Linked DNA regions of Homo sapiens: all the other regions are linked to region 3. Evidence: promoter capture Hi-C in 16 types of primary human blood cells and fetal thymus (Javierre and others, 2016). All regions are on one chromosome and are shown on one strand. Each heading gives the region's core, a stretch centred on a gene start or on the middle of the fragment in contact. The rest is flanking DNA. Distances are from core to core; before and after follow the strand shown. Region 1 holds the start of TMEM95 (transmembrane protein 95). Region 2 holds the start of CHRNB1 (cholinergic receptor nicotinic beta 1 subunit). Region 3 holds the start of BCL6B (BCL6B transcription repressor). Region 4 holds the start of ZBTB4 (zinc finger and BTB domain containing 4). Region 5 holds the start of SLC2A4 (solute carrier family 2 member 4). Region 6 overlaps KIAA0753. Region 7 overlaps KIAA0753.

Region 1 (2,856 bases), core at 169-2,668, 330 kb after region 3:
CGGGACTCTCCTGCACCTGACTGGAGCTCAGATGTGGGCAGGAATTCCCAAACCTGAGCCCACCAAGGACTCACAAGTGGTCCAGAAGGTCTCAACCTGTGCTGACCCTGGGAGGGGTAGGGAAGGTTCTCTCAGCTTGTTCTTGCCTAAGGCTGAGCACCTCCAGTCTCTCCTTGATTTGGAGCTCAGTGTTTAAGGGCTTGGAAAAGGGGGGAACATCTCTTTACCCAGACTAGACCTAGCAAAACCCTGGAAGGATATTGAGGTCTGGGGAAAAGGGAGGACTTTGCATTTTCCCAATGCGGTCTCTTGGACCATGGCTTCTACTCCTGAAGCTGGGTGGCCTGGCCTGGCCTGACCAATGAGAGGCCAGAACACTCTGGAACATCGGAAGAGGAGTTCTTTGCTATGTTCCAAGCCATCTACTGAGGGAGGCAGAAAGGCCACAACCCACCCTAGGTTGATGTATGGGAGCTAGGACAGTCCCCATGGCAATGGGGCTGGAGCATCCCTCATCTGGAAGAATCCCATACTGATGGCAGGGCTGGCCAGGGGGAAGAGGGTAGTATCTGTGGGTCCTGGCCTTTCTTCATGTGTGCGTGCATATCAGCCCGTGTGGCTGACTGATGTATAGGTCCCTGGCATCCTGGTTCATATCTGTGTTGCTGACTACAGTGTCTGTGATGTCCGCATGTCCAGGCCTGTTTGGGGTTGCCTAGCGACTCTTCTGGCACAGGGTGTGTCTGTGGTATACCTGTGAGGTGGTTGACAATTAGTAGTTTAATCACAGGGTGTGTGTGTGTGTGTGTGTGTGTGTGTTTATGTGCACGCATGTATATGCATCACCACGTAGCCAGGAGGGGCCTGTTGGGGTTTGAGTCACTGGGATCTTCCTGGTGAGAGGTAAGAGAAGTCACTGGGCTTAGCTGGGCCTCTGAGGCCTGTATGGAACTCTTGGTTGCTGAGGCAACCATGGACCTGTTGCTAGGAGATAGCTGGGGAAGGCCCAAGGCCGCCCAGGGCAGAGAGAGGAGACGAAGAGTTTGGGACAGTGGGGGAGGAGATGGGAAGGGATGGGATTTCTGGGTCCCAGAGCGGGTGGGATACTCACGCACAGCTTCTTCACTGGTGGGGGGTGGGGCACACATTATTTCTCACTGGTCATGATTTACAAGAAGAAAAATAAAACTGCTTTTGGAACCACAAACTTGTGAAGGCTGTTGAGGGCCAGGTTGGGGGTGCTGTCCCCTCACAACAGAAGCCCTGCTTTCTCTGCCCATCGCCTGCTGGAGATGCCTTCTGGACCCCAGTTCCTTGAGCCCCAGCTTTACCCCAGCTGAGGATGGGCAGTGCCATTGTTCATTGTTCTGGAACATTCTAGAACCTCCAGGCAAGGGCTGGAGCCAGGGCTGCAGAGCATTCCTCGGCTCAGCTGGGGCAGCGCCGCCCCATCCCCCAGTGGTCCTCATGTGGAGGCTGGCACTAGGCGGGGTTTTCCTGGCAGCCGCCCAGGCTTGTGTCTTCTGTCGCCTCCCAGCCCACGACTTGTCAGGCCGCCTGGCTCGGCTCTGCAGCCAGATGGAGGCCAGGCAGAAGGAATGTGGGGCCTCCCCAGACTTCTCGGCCTTTGCCTTAGGTAGGACCAGACATCCAGGGATGGGCCCAGCAAGCACTCACCCCCCTACCCCCAGAGGGTGGCATGTGACCTTCCAGCTGTGCCCTCCATCTGTGGCCCTTTCTGGACATGCTGGCCTTTCCCTCTGAGAGAGCTCCATATCTGGGAAAGTCAGGAGAGACCCCAGAACCTGGGCTGATGAGGGAATCGCTGGTCCTTGCCCATCTCCACAGATGAGGTGTCCATGAACAAAGTCACAGAGAAGACTCACAGAGTCCTGAGGGTCATGGGTGAGGTCAAGGGGAAAGAGTGACCTAGGGGCTTGGGAGGATACCAAGGAGAGGGACGGGTGACAGGGGTTGGGGTGGGCAGGGAAGGGTGGAGGGGTAGAGACAGGAGGGCTGATCAGGGAGGGGCTGCGTGAAGAGAGGGGGAACTGGCCCCGTCGAGGCCCAGGGAAACGGAGCTGCTGTCTGCCTCCCCAGAAATCAAAGAGGCTGTCTCCTCACTCCCTTCATATTGGAGTTGGCTTCGAAAGACCAAGCTCCCTGAGTACACCAGGGAAGGTACCGATGCGGGATGGGCCTCAAGGGGAGCCTAGGGTCTTAACCAAAGGAATGTGTGGTGAGCAGCTCATCCATTCACACCCCCACCCCTTCCTTGTCTTTCATTTCAGCTCTCTGTCCCCCCGCCTGCCGTGAGTAGGAAAGGAAAGGGGTAGCAAGGACCTGGGGCCTGCAGGGTGTCAGAGGAGGGCCTGGCAGCTGCAGGAGGAAGCTGGGTACCAGGCAGGGTGGAGGCCCGGCCTCCCCTCCCCAGCGTTGCCTCTGCTGTCTCCTGCAGGGGGCAGCACCACGCTGTACAACTGCTCCACCTGCAAGGGGACGGAGGTGTCCTGCTGGCCCCGAAAGCGCTGCTTCCCAGGTCCTCACGCCCATCTTGGCCCCGCCCCACCTTGCCCAGATCCCTGAGCCCTTGGGCTCCCAAGTCGGTGCGTGTGGGTCCCAGAATCATTCACTGCCTCCTGGGTTCCCTGCAGGAAGTCAGGATCTTTGGGAAGCCAAGATTCTGCTCCTCTCCATCTTCGGAGCTTTCCTGCTTCTGGGTGTTCTGAGCCTCCTGGTGGAGTGAGTTTTGGGATAAAGACAGGAATCCTACCCCGCCCAGTGCCTTCCACCACCCATCCTCCCTCCCTCTGTCCCTCCCAGGCCCCTCCCGTAGGCTTCCCACCCTCGTCTTCC
Region 2 (2,856 bases), core at 57-2,556, 420 kb after region 3:
GAAAGAGGCTAGATTTGGGCCTTGTCTAGCTGTTGGCTTTGGCCTGAACCGGAACCAGTCTCAGATGACCACGGGTTTAACCTTCTTATCCCAGAGACACCCAATTCTAGAGCTTTATGGAGCCGTACTTCCCCCTGAATCCTAGCTCTAGGACATAGATCATGACTCTCAGCCCTTTTACCCAGGATGGAGCTGGGGCCTGTATAGCCATATTATTGTTCTAAGTAAGTTCTAGCCCCACCCTCCCGCCTTCTTGAGTGATACCTATTACGGATGAGTTCTGGAAAAGACCCAGCTATGATTCATAAAAACACTTCTGGATGAATCAAGAACCATTTCTTGTTTTTCCTAGATAATTCTCTAAAAATATGATTCTTCCATATAGAATGCTAAGCTTATTTTTACATGCAGTTTCTAGCTCCTTCAACCCAGCTGAGGTCGTGCCAGGGAGACAGAGTCTGGAGAAGGGCAGAGGAATTTTGGAAGGATCCCTGGCTCATAGTAGGGAAGCTGGGATGGGGGAGGGGTCAAAATTATGGCATGACTGAACCTGCATCTGTGTTGGGTGGACATGAATACTTAGCTACCTCAGCAGGAATTCCTTCCAGGTCCCCTTTAAAGCTGAGGTCCTTAGAGTAATATGTCCTTAATAAAAAGGACAAATGGATACAGCCTTGACCCTCCCAGTGAGGAGACCCCAATTCAGCAATAAGTCTCACCCTTCTCCCCTACAGGTCAGGCCAAGAAGGGTGAAGGCCTCTTGCACTCCAGACCTCATACGCCCCAACAGCTTCTAATTGGATAGAACTTGCTTTACCTTACAGCTCACAACCTCAGCTGGGTTTTAGGTACCCAAAAAGGGCCTGTCTAGATTTTTTCAGAAAAACGTGGAGTGCTAGGGGCAGCCTGGAAAAGATGGGGAACCTGCTAGTGAACTAGGAGGGAGACTTCCATAGCCTCAGACTTGGATAGGGTAGGCTGAGGGGGCCCTAAGGGAGGGACTAAGGCTCCAAGGCAGGTCACTTTTCCTTAGGCTGTTCTACTTCTGGCTTGTTGCAAGAGGAGTAGATGCCCCCTCACCCACACAAACCCCACTCAGTCTCCACCCAACTCCTGGCACTGCTCCCAGGGGATCGGGTCTCCACTCCAGCTTTCTCAATTAAAGACGATTTATACAACTGAAGTGCTGTCTGTCATCTGTCGGTGGCGGGCTTGGCAGTTGCTCGAGGCAGGATCAAGTCCCGGGGGCGGGGCGGGTGGGCTGGCGGCTGTCCTCCAGCAACAGGTGCACATTCCCGGGCTCCTCGTCACTTCCCCTGTGCTGGCGGTCCCAGCGGCTCTCTGAGCGAAGTCACTGAGCGAGCCGCCAGGCTATGACCCCAGGGGCTCTGCTGATGCTGCTGGGGGCGCTGGGGGCGCCGCTCGCCCCAGGTAAGTGTAGGCCCCGAAGGGGCAGTGACGGGGCCAGCGGTCGTGGCCAGGCACCAGGGCTGCACTTATTCTCTCCTCCCCCAGGCGTCCGCGGCTCGGAGGCGGAGGGTCGACTCCGGGAGAAACTTTTCTCTGGCTATGATAGCTCCGTGCGGCCAGCGCGGGAGGTGGGAGACCGTGTCAGGGTCAGCGTTGGTCTCATCCTGGCGCAACTCATCAGCCTGGTGAGGGCGCGCGGGGGGTGGAGGTCAGGCCAGCCGACCGGCCGGGGGCGTGGCTTTAGGCAAGGCCGGACCAGGGACAGGCTGGGGGCGGGGCCTGGGACGAGACCAGGCTGAGATGGACCAGCCTTTGGTGAAGATTGGATCGAAATCAGACCAATGGACAAGCTCTGGCCGTGGGTGGTGGACGGGCCTGGAGTAGAACTGGGTAGGGTGAAGGACGGACCTGTGATCGGACCTTAAAGTGGGGCTGGGGACGAGGCAGGGGCTGGGGGACGGACCTCGACGTAGGGCCACATGAGTCCTGAGTGCCCAGGGTGGGGCGGAGCTTGGTGCTCAGGGGTCAATAAATGGCAGCGGGTGGAGGTTCGGGGCTGGGTGGATTATGAGCTGAAGGCAGGGCCGGGGACAGAGCTAGGCGGAGGGCTAGGCAGGGGCGGGTCTGGTAGGTTGATAGGCTGGGAGTGTAGACGGCAGGAAGAGGTGTTTCTGAGATAGAGGCAGGTCTTAAACTAACGCCGCTTCTGGGAGGTGGACTTGGACCCGAGAGGATGGGGCTCAGAAAAAGGGGGCGGCGTTCCCAGGAGAGAGGTTGGCCCCCCGAGCCCCCTCATTTCTCTCCACCCTACTTCACCTTTACGCCTTAAATTTTTCCCTTCTAGAACGAGAAGGATGAAGAGATGAGCACAAAGGTGTACTTAGACCTGGTATGGAGACCCCACGGGGTGGGAAAGGGCTTCCCTCTGCCTTGACAATTTCCTTGAATATCCAGCCCAGTAAGAATATTTTTTACATCATGACTTTAGATAACACGTTTATAACTGAAGCAAAAGCTCGAAGAAACAACACTTAACTTTACTACAGGAGTTACACCCCATGCATTTTTAATTCCAATTTTGTGTGTGTGTGTGTGTGTGTGTCTGTGTGTGTGTGTGTGTGTGTGTGTGTGTGTGTGTGTGTGTGTGTGATGCGGTCTCACTATGTTGCACAGGCTGTTCTTGAATGCGGGGGCTCGAGCCATCCACCAGCCTCGGGGGGAACCTCCACAAGTGCTGAGATTACAGCCGTGAGCCACTGCACCTGGCCCATTCTAATTTTTGAAACACTGGTTTGGGGCCGCTAATTTCATTCCCCATCCACTAAAGGATTGCGAACTGCAGTTTGAAAACCGTTTTAGAGGCTAGCTACTGCAGCCTCCTCATTT
Region 3 (2,903 bases), core at 233-2,732:
GCTTCTGCCTTGCAGCTGGATTCAGCTCTAGCACCCCTTCTCCAAATGAGCTTTGCCTTGCCTGCCCGCAATGTCTCCCGAAACAAAATATGAGGGTGTGATCCATGCCCATCTCTCAGATCAGGGACTTCAAATTAGGGTGGTTAAGCCCCCTCCTGCCCTCTCTCCCTCCTCCTTGTTTTCCCTTCTCGTTTACCCCACCCAATTTTAATGTTCAATTAAAAGTCACCTCCAAAGACATCTGGGTAGCAGTGTCTAGCTTAATTCGAAAAGAAAACCCGGAGTTCCCAGGCTCAGGTCCCGCTTCTTGTCCCACCCATTCCCCTGGCTCCTAAAGCCCGCGATTTCTCACCTCGGGTAGGAACCCCAGCCTGAGGGGAAAGTCCCCTCGGTCTCCTAACTCTAGCTCCCTCCGCCCAGCCCTAGTCCCCTCCTAGGAGACAGAGGTGCAAAATAAACCCGCGCAAAGGGGAGGAGGCTAAAGGTTTCAGCCGCCCAGACCAAATGGATCCTGCGCCCGGGTCTGAGCGCACCCCAGGCCGGGTGGAGACGAGGGGCGAGGCGAGGCCAGTGCTCGGCCGCCCCCTCGTGGAAGGAGCCGCACATTGCCGAGCCTTGCCTACTTGCCGCGCTGGACCCCGGCGTCCCGCCAGCCTCCAAGCGTAGCCGACGGGCGGGTGCCCGAGGCCCTCGTGAGCTGGGATTGGGGGAAAGCAAGCGGGCTTTGGGCGGGAGTCCATCTCTCTGGATCCCTACAAGGACCCAGAAGAGAGTCGGGAGCGAGAGAGGCCGGACGCCTAGGTCTCCCGAGCGTCTCTCGCCCCTCCACCCCCACCTCGGGGCTTTCCCCACCTCCTCGAGGGGAAGCAGCTGGCGGAGCCGTCCGGTCGCAGGACAATGGAAGGAAACCAACTAGAAATCATATCCGCCCTCTCCGTACCCCGCCCGGCCAGAGCCCCCCTTTTTGTAGGCCCGGGTAGAGTAGCCTGTCATTCACACCACACCCTCCCCGTCTGAGACCCTACGGGAGCCCACTGTCGTCTGCCCAAACCTGCTGTCTCGTTGGGCTCCCCCTTTTCTCCCTTAACACAGTACAAGAGAGGGAGAGGGGGTTGCCGTATGCACTTTGTCCTGCAGCAAAGGTTGGCTCCTGGCAAACCCTCCCAAAAGCCAACACACCAATTTTCACTGGCCCAGGCCTTCCGACGACTCAGACTCCCGTATTGCCAACCTCGATATCCCTAACCTCCTCCCCAATTCCAATATCCCCGTCCTCGTGTCCACTTGCAGTGACCCAAGACCCCCTACGTTACGACCACCCCTTGTTTCTGAGGTCCCGCCCTCGAGACGGAGACCCCGCCCTGGACTCGCCATCTGGAGAGCGAGGGAGGAAGGAAGGATACAGACCCAGGCGTTCACCCCACCTCCACCCCCGCCCCCGACATCCCGGCCAGATAAAGGAGCCGAGGCCAAGAGGGGAGAGAGACCCCGCCCCCCTTAAGAAGAGAAGCCGCGGCCCCTGCAGGACGGGGGTAAGAACAAGAGACTGAGGGAGCCAGACTCCTGGGTCCCCCAAGAGGGTAGGAGCTTGTGTGGAGCTTGCCATCAGCGAGCCTGAGTCCCAGAAATTGGGCTAAACTAGGGATTGGGGACTAGATAGGAGTCGCAGAATTCCGTAGTTCGGGGAAGGGAGCCTCGGCTGGGATTTGGAGGTGTGTGGACGGCAGGCCGTGAGATCTCGAGGCAGGGTTGGACACCTGAGACACAGGCGCGCAGAGGGGAGTGGCGGTGCTGGAGGGGCACTGGGGGTCGAACCCAGGGCGATGGGCGCGGGATTCCCCACGCTCGCCAACGACGCCGCGGTGTGGAACCTTCAACTGGCTCCAAGCGCTGTGGGATCTGGAAGAGGCAAGGGAGCGAGGGTGTCGTAGAGGGCAGAATGAACAAGAAGAATTAGGAGGGAGGCTGCGTGTGCCGGGGCTAGGGGCTGGAAGTCCTGGCTCTAGTTGCACCTCGGAAGGAAAAGGCAAACAGAGGAGGGAAGGCGTCTTAGGACTGCCTGGATCCAGAGCACTTTCCACGGCCTCTACAGGCCTGTGTCGCTATGGGTTCCCCCGCCGCCCCGGAGGGAGCGCTGGGCTACGTCCGCGAGTTCACTCGCCACTCCTCCGACGTGCTGGGCAACCTCAACGAGCTGCGCCTGCGCGGGATCCTCACTGACGTCACGCTGCTGGTTGGCGGGCAACCCCTCAGAGCACACAAGGCAGTTCTCATCGCCTGCAGGTTCGAGGGGTGGGGCCTGGGGCGGGGCCAAATGGGAAAGGGGTGGGACCACAGGGCCGTTGAGAGGGAATCCGAAGCCAAGTCTTTCAGAAGCAGGAGGCGGAGCGTCCCAGAATTGGGGGCGGGGTGATAGTGAGGAGGCGGGACTTTTTCAGGGGGCGGGGCTTCCTGAAGCTGCGCATGTCTCCCTTGGTTCCCCAGCCCCCAAAGGACTTATCTGCTCTCTCTCTAGTGGCTTCTTCTATTCAATTTTCCGGGGCCGTGCGGGAGTCGGGGTGGACGTGCTCTCTCTGCCCGGGGGTCCCGAAGCGAGAGGCTTCGCCCCTCTATTGGACTTCATGTACACTTCGCGCCTGCGCCTCTCTCCAGCCACTGCACCAGCAGTCCTAGCGGCCGCCACCTATTTGCAGATGGAGCACGTGGTCCAGGCATGCCACCGCTTCATCCAGGCCAGGTGAGGGACCCTGGCTCGGCGTTCTCTGTGGGTGAGGTGTTAAGGGCAAAGGCAGAGTTTAGGAAATGGCACTAACGTTCATCACACTTTCCCCAGCTATGAACCTCTGGGCATCTCCCTGCGCCCCCTGGAAGCAGAACCCCCAACACCCCCAACGGCCCCTCCA
Region 4 (3,222 bases), core at 604-3,103, 460 kb after region 3:
ATTTTAGTGACAAGAGTCACACCCAGCCTTTACATAAACATGGCCAAGGAGCCTCTCTGTCTAAGCTTACTTCCCTTGTGGCCGCCCAGCCTCTCCTCCGGGTGACCCTGACACGCTGGGCAGGCTCATGAGGGGCAAACATACAGACCCTGCAAAGATTAGCTGGGCCATCTGACAACACCCATGCCTCCCGCCGGCCTCCATGCGCTACCCTGCATTTATCTCCCGCCTTCCTCATACCAAATCCCCTCCGCAGCCCCACCGCCACTTAAGCACACAGACGGCAGGCACGCACACACAGCCTGCTTGCGGCTGGCCTCTTGGGTCTGAGGCCCACACTGCCCTTGTCACGCCACCTCCCTCCCCACATGTGTTTTCTGACCAGTTTGCCTCCCAGCTCAGCAGCCCAGACAGGCTCCTACAAACAACGTCACAAAAGAATCCTGTGGAGAATGTTGCAAACACACAACCTTCCCCTCGCTTGGCTGCCCATGATCCCATAAACACAACTGGCGCATTCCACCTCGAGCCCCTCACACCAGTGCCAACTGACCCACAGGCCCCTGAGACATACCCCGGGGTTCCTCGCTCCTCTCATGATCTTTGGGATCTGAGTTCTAGACGCGCAGCCCCCATGCAACGCGCTCATCACAGACACGCAAACCCATCCATCGCCCTCTTCACCACTGGACCACACCTCAGCAGGGCCACAGAAATGGGACCCAGACGTGACGCCTTCTGACTCAAAGGCCCACAACCGCCCCCTCCAAAAGGGCACATACACTGCATCCTGGCACCCTCCGCAACACATACAGCATGCCAGCTCTGCAGAAAACAGTTCATAAACAGGTCATAGGTGCAGCACAAGACACACATGCGAGAAAACACATGCTGTAGAAAACATACAGCCCCACATCGAACAAACTCTGCACCCAGCATGCTGTGCCCTGCTCAGAATACCCATCTGTCACCCAAAGCCACAGGGCTCGTCTTGTAACTCTGCCCCACAACACTGGACACCCTTCCTGGCTTTCTATCTCCATGGCCCAGGGAGGGCCCTACCCAGACCCCTGGCTGCCAGCAAACGGTGGTGCCCAGGAGAGGTTTACCTTGCCCCACCACACAGCACAAGACACACGATCTCCAAGACTCACAGCCACAACCCTGCCCCGACGGCGCGGCGGTTCCGGGGCCCCAGCTCGCCCTGCGCACCCCGCACACCCCAACTCTGGGGCGCTCGGCGGCCCACCCCTCCCCCTCTCTGCCTGGCTCCTACGCCATCACCCTCCCAGCAGCTTGCAGCGCTTGCCCGGGCTCACACCCGCCCCACCCCACCCCCAATCTGCCCCACGGGGGGAGGGGGCCATTAGGCTGCAGAATTAACCCTTCAAAGAGGGAGTGAGCACCTCCCCTTCCACGGCCCCAGGCGATCGCGTCCCACGGCCGCCCCTCGCTCGGACGCCATACCAGGGCCCCCTTAGTCGCCCCCCAGCGTCGTGCGCGCCCGGGGGCGGGGCCAGGCTCAGCCCCCGACCCCTGCGCCCCCAGGTCAACCCCAAAGGAGAGCGGTCTGGGCGCGGGGCGCGGTCGGGGCTCCCGCAGCGCCGGGCAGCGGAGAGGGGGCCTGGCAGTTGGCTCCGGTCCGCCCTGGCCCTGCCCAGTTCGCCCCAGGGCCCACCTGACTGCGATGGCGCCGCGTCCGCCAGGCCCGGCTCATCACCGTGGCCGCCCCCGGCCGCTCCGGTTTTGCCCGCCTCCAGCTCCGGCTCCGGCTCCAGCTCCGGCCCTGGCCCCCCCAGCGCCTGGCCCCGGCCCGGCCCCGCTGCCGCCGCCGCCGCCGCCGCTGACATCATCGGCTCCCCCCGCCCCGGTCCTACCCCCACCCCCACCCCCGGAAACAGTCCCCCCCCAGCGCCGCCGCCGCCGCCGCCGAGAGGAGGCCGGCGCAGCGCAGCCGACACCGACACAAAGCTCCGAGCGCCCGACGGCCTTCCCCAGGACTGACCCCCGCGGCATGACACTGCGCCGCGCTGGGCCACCGGGCGGGTGGACACCGAGCGGGGCGCGGGCCGGGCTGCAGCATCCCGGCAGGGGCGCAAGACCACCGACCCCCAGGGAAAGGGCTCCCTCCGCCCTTCCTCCTGCACGCCCTTCACTCAGCGGTGCACACTGCCTGAAAGCATAACACACAGGCTCTCAGGGTGCAGACATGACATGGCAGACTCATAATCAGGCCCGGTGGGACTCACAGACCCAGGGTCGGCACACTCAAAGAGGGCCAGCCCTGGACACACACACACACCCTCTCCAGGAATGCGCAGGAAAGCTCAGCAGGCCGCGGAAAAAGAAGGCCCTGGCCCTGCATACGGGGCACACACGAACGACCACCAGCGCAAATGAACACATGAAGCTGGCTGGGTACTTTGTCCCCACCAGCAGATAGATCCACATCTGTATACTTGAACATAAATGCAGAGGCCTTGGTGTCGGCCTCTGGGGACAGCATCAACAAAACACCAGGTGGAAGCACACACAGAAAAAACACATTCCTGAAACTCCACAGGGACAATCCCAAGAACTCCTCCCTGGTGCTGGAAAATTAAAAACTAAGGAGATGGAGGAGCCAGGGTTCACAGCTCCTTGCCTTAAAACCTCTCTGAGGCTGGGCGCGGTGGCTCACGCCTGTAATCCCAGCACTTTGGGAGGCCGAGGTGGGCGGATCACGAGGTCAGGAGATCGAGACCATCCTGGCTAACACGGTGAAACCCTGTCTCTACTAAAAATACAAAAAAATTAGCCGGGCGTGGTGGCGGGCGCCTGTGGTCCCAGCTACTCGGGAGGCTGAGGCAGGAGAATGGCGTGAACCTGGGAGGCGGAGCTTGCAGTGAGCCGAGATCTCGCCACTGCACTCCAGCCTGGGCGACAGAGACAGACTCCGTCTCAAAAAAAAAACAACAACAAAAAAACCTCTCTGAAACCATGCAAGATATAAATAAACAAATTAATGTAAAGCCACAGAGCTAGCCATAAAAAGAATAAAAGAATCAGACAAACTTTGGAGTCATGGAGACATAAATAGAAAAGAAGCAGAGTTGGGCTGGGCACGGTGGCTCATGCCTGTAATTCCACCACTTTGGGAGGCGGGGGGTGGTGGGGTGGATCACTTGAGGTAAGGAGTTCAAGACCAGCATGGCCAACATGGAGAAACCCCATCTCTACGAA
Region 5 (2,859 bases), core at 1-2,500, 260 kb after region 3:
AGGAGGAATCGAGCCTGACTTCTACCATAGGGGTGACTGGGCGGGTAATTCATTGAAATAAGGAAGTTAGGAGGAGGAGCAGGTTTGGACATGCTGATCACTAGAGCTGCCACATCCGGGCGGTAACGAACACCTGGATCTGCAGCTCCAGAGAAGGGCCTGGGTCAGATGTCACTGAAGCCCTATGGTGGCGGAAAGGCGAGAAATAGTGGGTTGAGATTCCAAGTGCAATCCACTGCGGCTCCTCGCTCGCCCTCCAGGTGGCAGCACAACCCTGCGCTTCCGAAGCCCGTTTTCTGAGCCAGACACTCTCCACGCTCTGGGTATTTCGGCTTCTCTCTCCCCACACGCCGACCCTAGGTCGCGCACTTTCTGCCTGGCAGAATTTGGCCGAGGATCCAAACCCGGAGCAGCCTCCAGAGAGCGTGTCGTTCACGCGGCCAGCATATGCTCAGAGACCTCAGAGGCTCAGAGACCTCAGGGCTGGTGGTGTGGTCGGTTGTGACCACTTGTCCCTCGGACCGGCTCCAGGAACCAACCTGGGGAATGTGTGTAGGGGAAGGGCGGGATAGACAGTGCCCGGAGCAGGGAGGCGCTGAAAGACAGGACCAAGCAGCCCGGCCACCAGACCCGTTGTGGGAACGGAATTTCCTGGCCCCCAGGGCCACACTCGCGTGGGAAGCATGTCGCGGACTCTTTAAGGCGTCATCTCCCTGTCTCTCCGCCCCCGCCTGGGACAGGCCGGGACGCCCGGGACCTGACATTTGGAGGCTCCCAACGTGGGAGCTAAAAATAGCAGCCCCGGGTTACTTTGGGGCATTGCTCCTCTCCCAACCCGCGCGCCGGCTCGCGAGCCGTCTCAGGCCGCTGGAGTTTCCCCGGGGCAAGTACACCTGGCCCGTCCTCTCCTCTCAGACCCCACTGTCCAGACCCGCAGAGTTTAAGATGCTTCTGCAGCCCGGGATCCTAGCTGGTGGGCGGAGTCCTAACACGTGGGTGGGCGGGGCCTTTTGTTCCAGGGACTCTTTTCTCAAAACTTCCCAGTCGGAGGCTGGCGGGAACCCGAGAGGCGTGTCTCGCCAGCCACGCGGAGGGGCGTGGCCTCATTGGCCCGCCCCACCAACTCCAGCCAAACTCTAAACCCCAGGCGGAGGGGGCGTGGCCTTCTGGGGTGTGCGGGCTCCTGGCCAATGGGTGCTGTGAAGGGCGTGGCCCGCGGGGGCAGGAGCGAGGTGGCGGGGGCTTCTCGCGTCTTTTCCCCCAGCCCCGCTCCACCAGATCCGCGGGAGCCCCACTGCTCTCCGGGTCCTTGGCTTGTGGCTGTGGGTCCCATCGGGCCCGCCCTCGCACGTCACTCCGGGACCCCCGCGGCCTCCGCAGGTTCTGCGCTCCAGGCCGGAGTCAGAGACTCCAGGATCGGTTCTTTCATCTTCGCCGCCCCTGCGCGTCCAGCTCTTCTAAGACGAGATGCCGTCGGGCTTCCAACAGATAGGCTCCGAAGTAGGATTCATCATGAGGGGGCGGGGCGGGGGGGCACGGGTCCCGCTTTTCTTGGGCTGGGGTCGCGGTTGGGGTCAGCTGGGGGTGGTTCCTGCGCAGGCGCAGGGGGTGAAGGTAGGGGGCTGGCTATTTATACCCGGCCTGGACAACCCGTGACTGTGAGATTCCAATCCTACCAAAAGGCAGAGTGGGTCTGGAGGGCCTTTCGGGGCACAGGCAGCAAGTGGATTCTGCGAGCCAGGGTTCACCCCCTTGCCTAGTAGGCGGCGCGGCGCTCCGGAATCGGGGACACCCTGCCCTCGATCCGACTCGGGAAAGCAGATCCAGGCGGGTCTTGCCCTCCGGGAGCTGTCCGTCCGTCTTCGCTCACGGGCAGTGTTTCGAGGACCGGAGGCTCTCCGTGGGCCCCCACCCCCACTCCTGGCCGCCCTCCAGGACGCTGAACTTTCCCTTGGCCCCATGGTTGGTGGAGGGGCAGAGGGGACTGTCAGCCCCCCCTCCTCCAGCTCAGGTTTCCGCTTGGAGACAGTCTGTGCCGCCAGCGAGCGGCCACCACTGCCACCGCCCCTCACACTACCTTCCTGCCCTCCTCCCCTGGGCATGGCTCTCCCAGGCAGAACCCCTGGACGGCCCTCCCTGCACGGAGGTTAGAGGGGGAGGGCAGGCCACGACGTAGATAGAGAAGGCCACCCCTAGATGACCGGGATGTCCTTTCTGGAACAGCACTTCTTGGTCCTGTTGGGGGCCTCCTGGAGCTGGCTGACAGAACCCCCAGAGGGGAGGGAAGAGGACAGTGGCTGATGATAATAATGCACGTGTTAATTTATGAAACCAGCACTGTCAAGGATATTGTTAACATGTGATGTTGATTTTCACAACACTCTCACAGATAGGTAGGCAAGGCAGGCAACATCACCCCCATCTCACAGAGGACACTCAGGTTCGGGGCAGGGAAGTGACTTGGCCAAGGTCACACAAATCTGAGCTCTTAAGGCCAAGCCTGTCTCAAGGTCACAGAAGAATTTTGAGACAAGTTCTCAAACATTTCTCTGCCTTATGGACCCAAACATCCAGTTTCTCCTTTATGCCCAGGTTGCAGTTCAGCTCCTGTTTACATTGAGATCTTTGTGCAATTCCTAATATGGCCCAGTTTCCCTCACCCAACATGTTGGGTGGAGCCCAGTATCTTCAGGCTCCAGCTGGGCCCGGGCCCCTAGCGGAAGGAAAAAAATCATGGTTCCATGTGACATGCTGTGTCTTTGTGTCTGCCTGTTCAGGATGGGGAACCCCCTCAGCAGCGAGTGACTGGGACCCTGGTCCTTGCTGTGTTCTCTGCGGTGCTTGGCTCCCTGCAGTTTG
Region 6 (3,059 bases), core at 74-2,573, 390 kb before region 3:
CATTCTCCACTGAAGAATCAAAGTCTCCTTGGATAAATGGTTAATTCCAGGGCCAGGACAAAGAAAAGACAAGTTGAGCCTGGAGTATCTTTTATTTATTTATTTATTTATTTATGAGACGGAGTCACCCAGGCTGGAGTGCAGTGGCACAATCTTGGCTCACTGCAACCTCCGCCTCCTGGGTTCAAGTGATTCTACTGCCTCGGCCTCCCAAGTAGCTGAGATTATAGGTGTGCACCATCATGCTCAGCTAATTTTTTTGTATTTTTTAGCAGAGATGGGGTTTTAGCAACATGGGGTTTCACCATGTTGGCCAGGCTGGTCTTGAACTCCTGACCTCAAGTGATCCTCCTGCCTTGGCCTCCCAAAGTGCTGGGATTACAGGCATGAGCCACAACGCCCAGCCTTGGAGTGTCTTTTTACACCATAAAGTGGTCAAAGACTGATGAGATCATGTCAAAGAGACACTGGGGCCAACTAGAAGTGGCTCTCACTGGCTAAATCAAAGACCATTTGAACATCAAAATAAATATCTGCACATCAAAATAAATAATGAGAATAAAAATAATAATGAGTCTGTGCTGAAATAAATAAGTAAGTACTAGGAAAAGAAGGGGTTTCCTGGAGCAGTGGGAAAGAGCCAGATTGCAAGGAGTAAGGCAACAAGTAAATGTAGAAGGAAGGGTAAAATTAGAAATCCCCATTTGCCAACCACCATAATAAAAAACTGATTCAGGCAAAAATGCTAAAAGTAGTTGGTGAAAGTTTGAGGTGTTAAAAAGACATTAACATAGTCTCCAAGACAAATAATTACAAAAAGCAAAGGAGTAACTTTACAATGAAAAAACCAGGCAGATACCACCTTAATCAAATGGTGAAAGTCAACACTGCTAGTGCTGGGACTAAATTGGCAGCATGTACTTGCTGATAGGGTGTCCTGAGAAGCACTCAGTATCATTCAGTGGTTCTCCTGCCAAAAGTGCATTACCTGAATGTAACTGTGAGAAGACATCAGGCAAATCTAAATTGAGAGAAAATCCACAAATAACTGGCCTATATTCTTAAAAAAAATCAATGTCACAAAACCTAAAAACAGACTCAGAAATCAGATTAAAGGAGACTACAGAGGCATGACAATGTAATGCACCTTATGATCTTGGATTTTCTTTTGCTATAAAGGACACTATTGGGACAACTAACAAAATCTCAGTAAGGTCTGCAGATTACATGATGGTATCGATTTAATGTTAATTTCTGATTCTGATCATTGTACTATGGTTATATAATAGAATTCTTTATTTTCAGGAAAAAAATACTTAGAGGTAAAAGGGCACTGTGTCTGCAATTTACTCTTAAATGGTTTAGAAAATAATTTGTGTGTGTATAGAGATAGTGAGAGAGAGAAGGAGGGAATACGTAGCAAAATGTTAGCATTTGAGGAATCTGGGAGAAGAGTATCCAGGAATTCTGTGGACTATTCTTGCAACTTTTCTGTCAGTCTGAAATTATGTCAAAAAATTTTTTTAAATTTCTTTGTACACCACGATAAGATATTATTAAACACCCACCAGAATGGCTAAAGAGACAACAACAAGTGTTGGCAAAGATGTGGAGCAACTGGAGCTCTCATACATTGTCAGCAGGAATGTAAAACGGTACCACCACTATGTAAAAAGGTCCAATGGTTTGTTATAAAACTAAATATACACCTACCCCATGACTCAGCAATTTCACTGTTGGATATTTACCCAAAAGAAATGAAAACATGTTCATAAAAAGATCTGTATAAGAATGTTCATAGCAGCTTTATTTATAATAATCCCAAATTGGAAGCAGCCCAGGTGTCCATTAATTGGAGAACGGATAAACAAACTGTGGTATACTCATAGTATGGAATGAGAAAAAAGGATTAAAAAGGAATAAACTACTGATACATGCAATGACAAGGATGGATCTCAAAAACTTTACAGCTAGTGAAATGTCTTAACACCAAAAAAATATAAAATCCCATTTATATAAGGTTCTAGATCAGGGAAAACTAATCTGTGGTGGAAAAAATAAGAATAGTGGCTGCCTCTGGAGGGGAGGAGTGGGGGTTATCTAGCAAGGGGCATCAAGAGAACTTTCTAGGATAACAGAAATGATCTGTATCTTGATAGAGGTATGGGTTACACATATGTATGCATTTGTCAAAACTCAGCAAATGTGAAAAGATGTACACATTGCAATGTGTACATCTTTCACCATTTCTGACGTAAAATGTATATTGAAAGAAAAAAATCAGTAAACAGGGTGAATTCTTTTTTTTTTTTTTTTTTCTTTTTTGAGATGGAGTCTCGCTCTGTCACCCAGGGTGGAGTGCAGTGGCACAATCTCTGCTCACTGCAACCTCTGCCTCCCAGGTTCAAGCGATTCTCCTGCCCCAGCCTCCGAAGTAGCTGGGATTATAGGTGTGCACCACCACGCCCAGCTAATTTTTGTATTTTTAGTAGAGATGGGGGTTTCACTATGTTAGTCAGGCTGGTCTCGAACTCCTGACCTCTGGTGATCCGCCCGCCTGGACCTCCCAAAGTGCTGGGATTACAGGCGTGAGCCACCGCATCTGGCCCTAAACAGAGTGAATTCTAATGTACAACATGCATATGGAAGTAGTTTGGATACTCATGCCTGCAATTGACTTTGAAATGTGTCAAAAAATAAGATGGATTGATGGATGGATCTCTAGAGGGATGACTGAGTGACAGACATGCAACGAAACAAGTAAGTGAAATATAATGGAATCTAGGTGAGGTGTTCATTGTAAAATTCAACTTTGCTGTATTTTTAAAGATTTTCATAATATAATGCTAGGGGAAAAGACATTTTTGAGACAACTGAGTAAAGCTGAATAAAGACTGGTTATTGGATAACAGGGAATTTTTTGGGTCCATTTCTTATAAGAAATGGTATAAGAATAGTATCATGATTAAGTAGGAGAGTTCATTTTTAGGAGAAGTATTCTCAAATATTTAGAAGTATCAGGTTGACTGCAATTTGCTTTGGGGTGATTCTGCAAAAAT
Region 7 (3,149 bases), core at 376-2,875, 420 kb before region 3:
ATGTAGATTCCAATTCAGTTGGTCTGAGTAAGGCCTGAGAGTCTGCATTTCCAACAAGCTCCTAGGTGATGTGACAGTGCTGTTCCTAGGCCTTACTTTATGCACAGGGATTTAGGTAACATCTGAAGTGTGTAACGCACTGAGTACACTTCAAAAAAAATAACGGTTGTCATTAACAGCTAAAGAGGGTAATCAACTAAACAAAAGAAACTAATTTTGTTCCCTCTCCAAATCCCACTAAAACAACCATAGAGTTAGCTTTACACCCACAAGGATAAGGAAGAAAAAAATGGTGCTGGAAAACAAAGGACAAAAGTGATAACTAACTTAGCTGATCTGAGAAAGCTGACTTCTCCCATCCAAGTACTAACCAGGCCCAACCCTGCTTAGCTTCGGAGATCAGACGAGATCGGGCACATTCAGGGTGGTATGGCCGTAGACAGGAAGTTGACTTCTAGGGCCAGCAGTGGGAAAAACTAGAACCCACACAATTTGTACTGCTGACTTAGGCACATGACTGGTAGTACCAGGTACATCTAGGCCTGGGCTAAGCTGGGAGGGGGTGGTTTAAAAACTGACGACAACAGCCAAATGATGTTTGAGAAATTAAGACTCCTAGATCCCTTTCCCTACTTCACACAACTATACAGCCGCCTCTTTCCAACTCTAGGAGAAGTCTGATGGCTCATTCTCTGTGTGAGGGTCTCTTGACTAGGGGCACCCAATCACAGTTGAGGCTGTAGGTACCATACTGAAAAGAGGCAGCGGTCACGTATGCAGGCTAAATGCTATGTTATTAGACTCACAGCCCTCTTCCCCAACTCAGCTCCTAGGAAGCAACATCCTGATCTTACTCTCTGGGCCAAAGATCAGAAAACTTCTCTGGGCAGTCTGACCCAGGCCAAAGGAAAGACCTAAAGACCAACATAAGTGTCCTTAACAAACAGTCCAGGTGTTACTTTCATCAGATGGTGTTGGAATAGCCAGATATCCATTAAAGAAAATGAATTTCGACCAGTATTTCATCTCATACACAAAAATTAATTCTAAATGGATAACAGACACAAGAATAAATGGTAAAACTATAAAATACTTAAAGGAAAACATAAGAGAAAATCCTTGAGACACTAACATAGGCAATGATTTCTTAGCTAGTTCACCAAAAATGACTAACCAGAAAAGAAAAATTGATAAACTGGTCTTAATCAGAATTTAACACTTTTAGTCATCAAAAGACACCATTACAAAGATCTATGGGCGAGCCATAGTATTGCGAGAAAATATCTGCTGCACACATATCTGGCAAGGGGCTCATATCCAGAAAATACAAAGAACTCAAATCAACACTTAAAAAAAATTCTAATAGGCAAAAGACTTGAACACACACTTCATAATCAGCACTAGAAAAGGTGCCCAACATCATTCGCCTTCAAGGAAACACAAATTAATACCACAAAGAGATACCACCACATTCTCACCAGAATCACTAAAAGACTGACAAGCTCAATTGTTAGCAAGGATGTGAAACCAATAGAAACGAACTCACATGCACTGCTGATGGGAGTATAAAAAGCTACTACTCTGGATAATGCATATGGCTCATTTAATAAAATCAAACAACTGCCTATCCTATTACCCAGAAATTATACTCCTAGGCATTTACCCAAGAGAAATGAAAGCATATTTCTACAAAAAGCCTTGTGCAAGAATGTATGTAACAGCTTGATTCATACTAACTATAAATGGGAAAGCCCAAATGTCAATTCACAAGAGAATGAACAAACAGAATGTGGTATATTCCCACAGTGGAATACTACTCTGCACTAAAATGGATGAACTATGCTGATACACACACAATGTGGATGAATCGTAAACATTTTCTTGAGCAAAAGAAGCCAGACACAATGGGGTAGATCTTGATGATTCTATTCATATAAAGTCTGAACAGGCAAAGCTACTTACAGTAAAAGAAATCAAAGCAACTGCCTCCGTGAGGGATGGGGGTGTGGAGTAGAGAACGACCAAAAAAGACATGTGGGTACTTTCTAGGTTGAAGGACAAATTATCTATCTTGATTAGCGTTTTGGTTACCCAGGGATATGCATTTGTCAAAATTCATTGAACTGTACCTTTAAGTTCTTTGCATTTTACTATATGTAAATTATACCACGATAGAAACAATTATTTAGAAAACTAAAATACTAATTCCAACCCACATACTCTGAGTTTTTGATCGGCAATCACTCCCCCTACGTTTAAACATGAGAAGATAGCCAAGATTACTAGGTATCTGAGGAAGGAAAAAAAAGATTATGTAGGTCAAAAGGCAGAGGAAATGTGTTAATATATTCAGAAAGAAAACAGCACTGAATCCATGAAAGAAGGACAGGCGACCACTAAGTAAGAGATATTTGGAGAATATAATAGAGCTCTCAACATTTTTAAATTTTAAAATTTAAACACTGGCAGAAATGACAAACTCAATAGGTTAAATGTTAAAGTTGGAGGAAATCTCCTACTGGGGGAGGGTAGGGGTAGAGGTAGAAGAGGGAAAAAAGAAAATAGGAAAAAACAGATAAGAAAATCAGAGGACCAATCAAGGAAGTCCAACATCAAAGAACAGGAGTTTCAGAAACAGAGAATAGAGAAAACAGAGACAAGAAAAAAAAAGTACAAAATAAAGCACGAAAACTTCTCAGAATTAAAGGAAATAAATTGCCAGGCTTAAAAGGTCTACTGATGAATGAAAACACACCCACAATAAGTCCTATCATTATGAATCTGAGATACCCTGGGGAGAAAGCAGAGTCTGTGAGCCTCTAGAGAAGGATAAAAAGCAATTCTGATTTCTCATTGGAAACAAGCCAATGAGCAGAAATGCTCAGATTTTTGCTTCTGAAGAGGCTGAAAAATGTACTTTCCACTCTTCTTCCTGTTAATTACAACTAAGAATCCTGGACATTAAATATATGCAAACATAAGAGGACTCGGAGAGAAGTAGAGAAGGCACATCACCTAGGGACACTGGGACCAAAAGAATGACAGAGCAGTGAGTTCTTTGGGATTTCTCTTTGCCTTATATTTCCCAGAGTAGGTACTGGAGAAGCCGGCAACCCAGAAACACCAATAGGCACAGACAAAAAATAAGT

Evidence for each region. The method cuts DNA at HindIII sites, captures the fragments that hold promoters and counts their contacts. A CHiCAGO score of 5 or more calls a contact.
Region 1: a contact is called between the fragment with the promoter of TMEM95 here and the fragment with the promoter of BCL6B in region 3, in 1 of 17 cell types (monocytes). The highest score is 6.2, in monocytes.
Region 2: a contact is called between the fragment with the promoter of CHRNB1 here and the fragment with the promoter of BCL6B in region 3, in 2 of 17 cell types (monocytes and M1 macrophages). The highest score is 5.8, in monocytes.
Region 4: a contact is called between the fragment with the promoter of ZBTB4 here and the fragment with the promoter of BCL6B in region 3, in 8 of 17 cell types (naive B cells, M0 macrophages, monocytes and 5 more). The highest score is 9.3, in naive B cells.
Region 5: the fragment with the promoter of SLC2A4 here is called in contact with the fragment with the promoter of BCL6B in region 3 in 6 of 17 cell types (monocytes, M0 macrophages, naive B cells and 3 more); the score reaches 8.3 in monocytes.
Region 6: a fragment that was not itself captured here is called in contact with the fragment with the promoter of BCL6B in region 3 in 1 of 17 cell types (neutrophils); the score reaches 5.5 in neutrophils.
Region 7: a fragment that was not itself captured here is called in contact with the fragment with the promoter of BCL6B in region 3 in 1 of 17 cell types (neutrophils); the score reaches 9.3 in neutrophils.

What each region holds. Positions count from the first base shown.
Region 1 is chr17:7,353,738-7,356,593 of GRCh38, forward strand. It overlaps TMEM95 (transmembrane protein 95), which reads left to right and starts at 1,419. Exons shown (of 7, transcript NM_001320436.2): 1 at 1,419-1,636; 2 at 1,849-1,905; 3 at 2,101-2,181; 4 at 2,292-2,312; 5 at 2,459-2,539; 6 at 2,655-2,742. The coding sequence starts at 1,468. It overlaps KCTD11 (potassium channel tetramerization domain containing 11), which reads left to right. Exons shown (of 1, transcript NM_001363642.1): 1 at 1-1,207. RefSeq lists enhancers at 960-1,486, 1,487-2,013. The HindIII fragment of the contact is 23,288 bases long and covers 1-2,856 here.
Region 2 is chr17:7,443,755-7,446,610 of GRCh38, forward strand. CHRNB1 (cholinergic receptor nicotinic beta 1 subunit) reads left to right here and starts at 1,307. Exons shown (of 11, transcript NM_000747.3): 1 at 1,307-1,431; 2 at 1,516-1,655; 3 at 2,315-2,359. The coding sequence starts at 1,374. It overlaps FGF11 (fibroblast growth factor 11), which reads left to right. Exons shown (of 5, transcript NM_004112.4): 5 at 1-1,183. RefSeq lists a silencer at 1,379-1,428. The HindIII fragment of the contact is 9,289 bases long and covers 393-2,856 here.
Region 3 is chr17:7,021,568-7,024,470 of GRCh38, forward strand. It overlaps BCL6B (BCL6B transcription repressor), which reads left to right and starts at 1,483. Exons shown (of 9, transcript NM_181844.4): 1 at 1,483-1,532; 2 at 2,093-2,283; 3 at 2,516-2,737; 4 at 2,834-2,903. The coding sequence starts at 2,105. RefSeq lists a silencer at 437-576. The HindIII fragment of the contact is 4,378 bases long and covers 1-2,903 here.
Region 4 is chr17:7,477,778-7,480,999 of GRCh38, forward strand. It overlaps ZBTB4 (zinc finger and BTB domain containing 4), which reads right to left and starts at 1,854. Exons shown (of 4, transcript NM_001128833.2): 1 at 1,679-1,854. RefSeq lists silencers at 1,161-1,210, 1,471-1,930, 1,951-2,210. The HindIII fragment of the contact is 9,560 bases long and covers 64-3,222 here.
Region 5 is chr17:7,280,468-7,283,326 of GRCh38, forward strand. SLC2A4 (solute carrier family 2 member 4) reads left to right here and starts at 1,251. Exons shown (of 11, transcript NM_001042.3): 1 at 1,251-1,500; 2 at 2,778-2,859. The coding sequence starts at 1,468. RefSeq lists a silencer at 1,215-1,364 and an enhancer at 1,497-2,484. The HindIII fragment of the contact is 20,977 bases long and covers 1-2,859 here.
Region 6 is chr17:6,631,796-6,634,854 of GRCh38, forward strand. The region is part of intron 2 of KIAA0753; the gene reads right to left. Among named protein-coding and RNA genes, the nearest start is that of KIAA0753, 7.4 kb to the right of the region's middle. The HindIII fragment of the contact is 6,054 bases long and covers 1-3,059 here.
Region 7 is chr17:6,600,611-6,603,759 of GRCh38, forward strand. All of the region lies in intron 12 of KIAA0753, which reads right to left. It also overlaps the pseudogene RNA5SP435. Among named protein-coding and RNA genes, the nearest start is that of KIAA0753, 39 kb to the right of the region's middle. The HindIII fragment of the contact is 7,378 bases long and covers 1-3,149 here.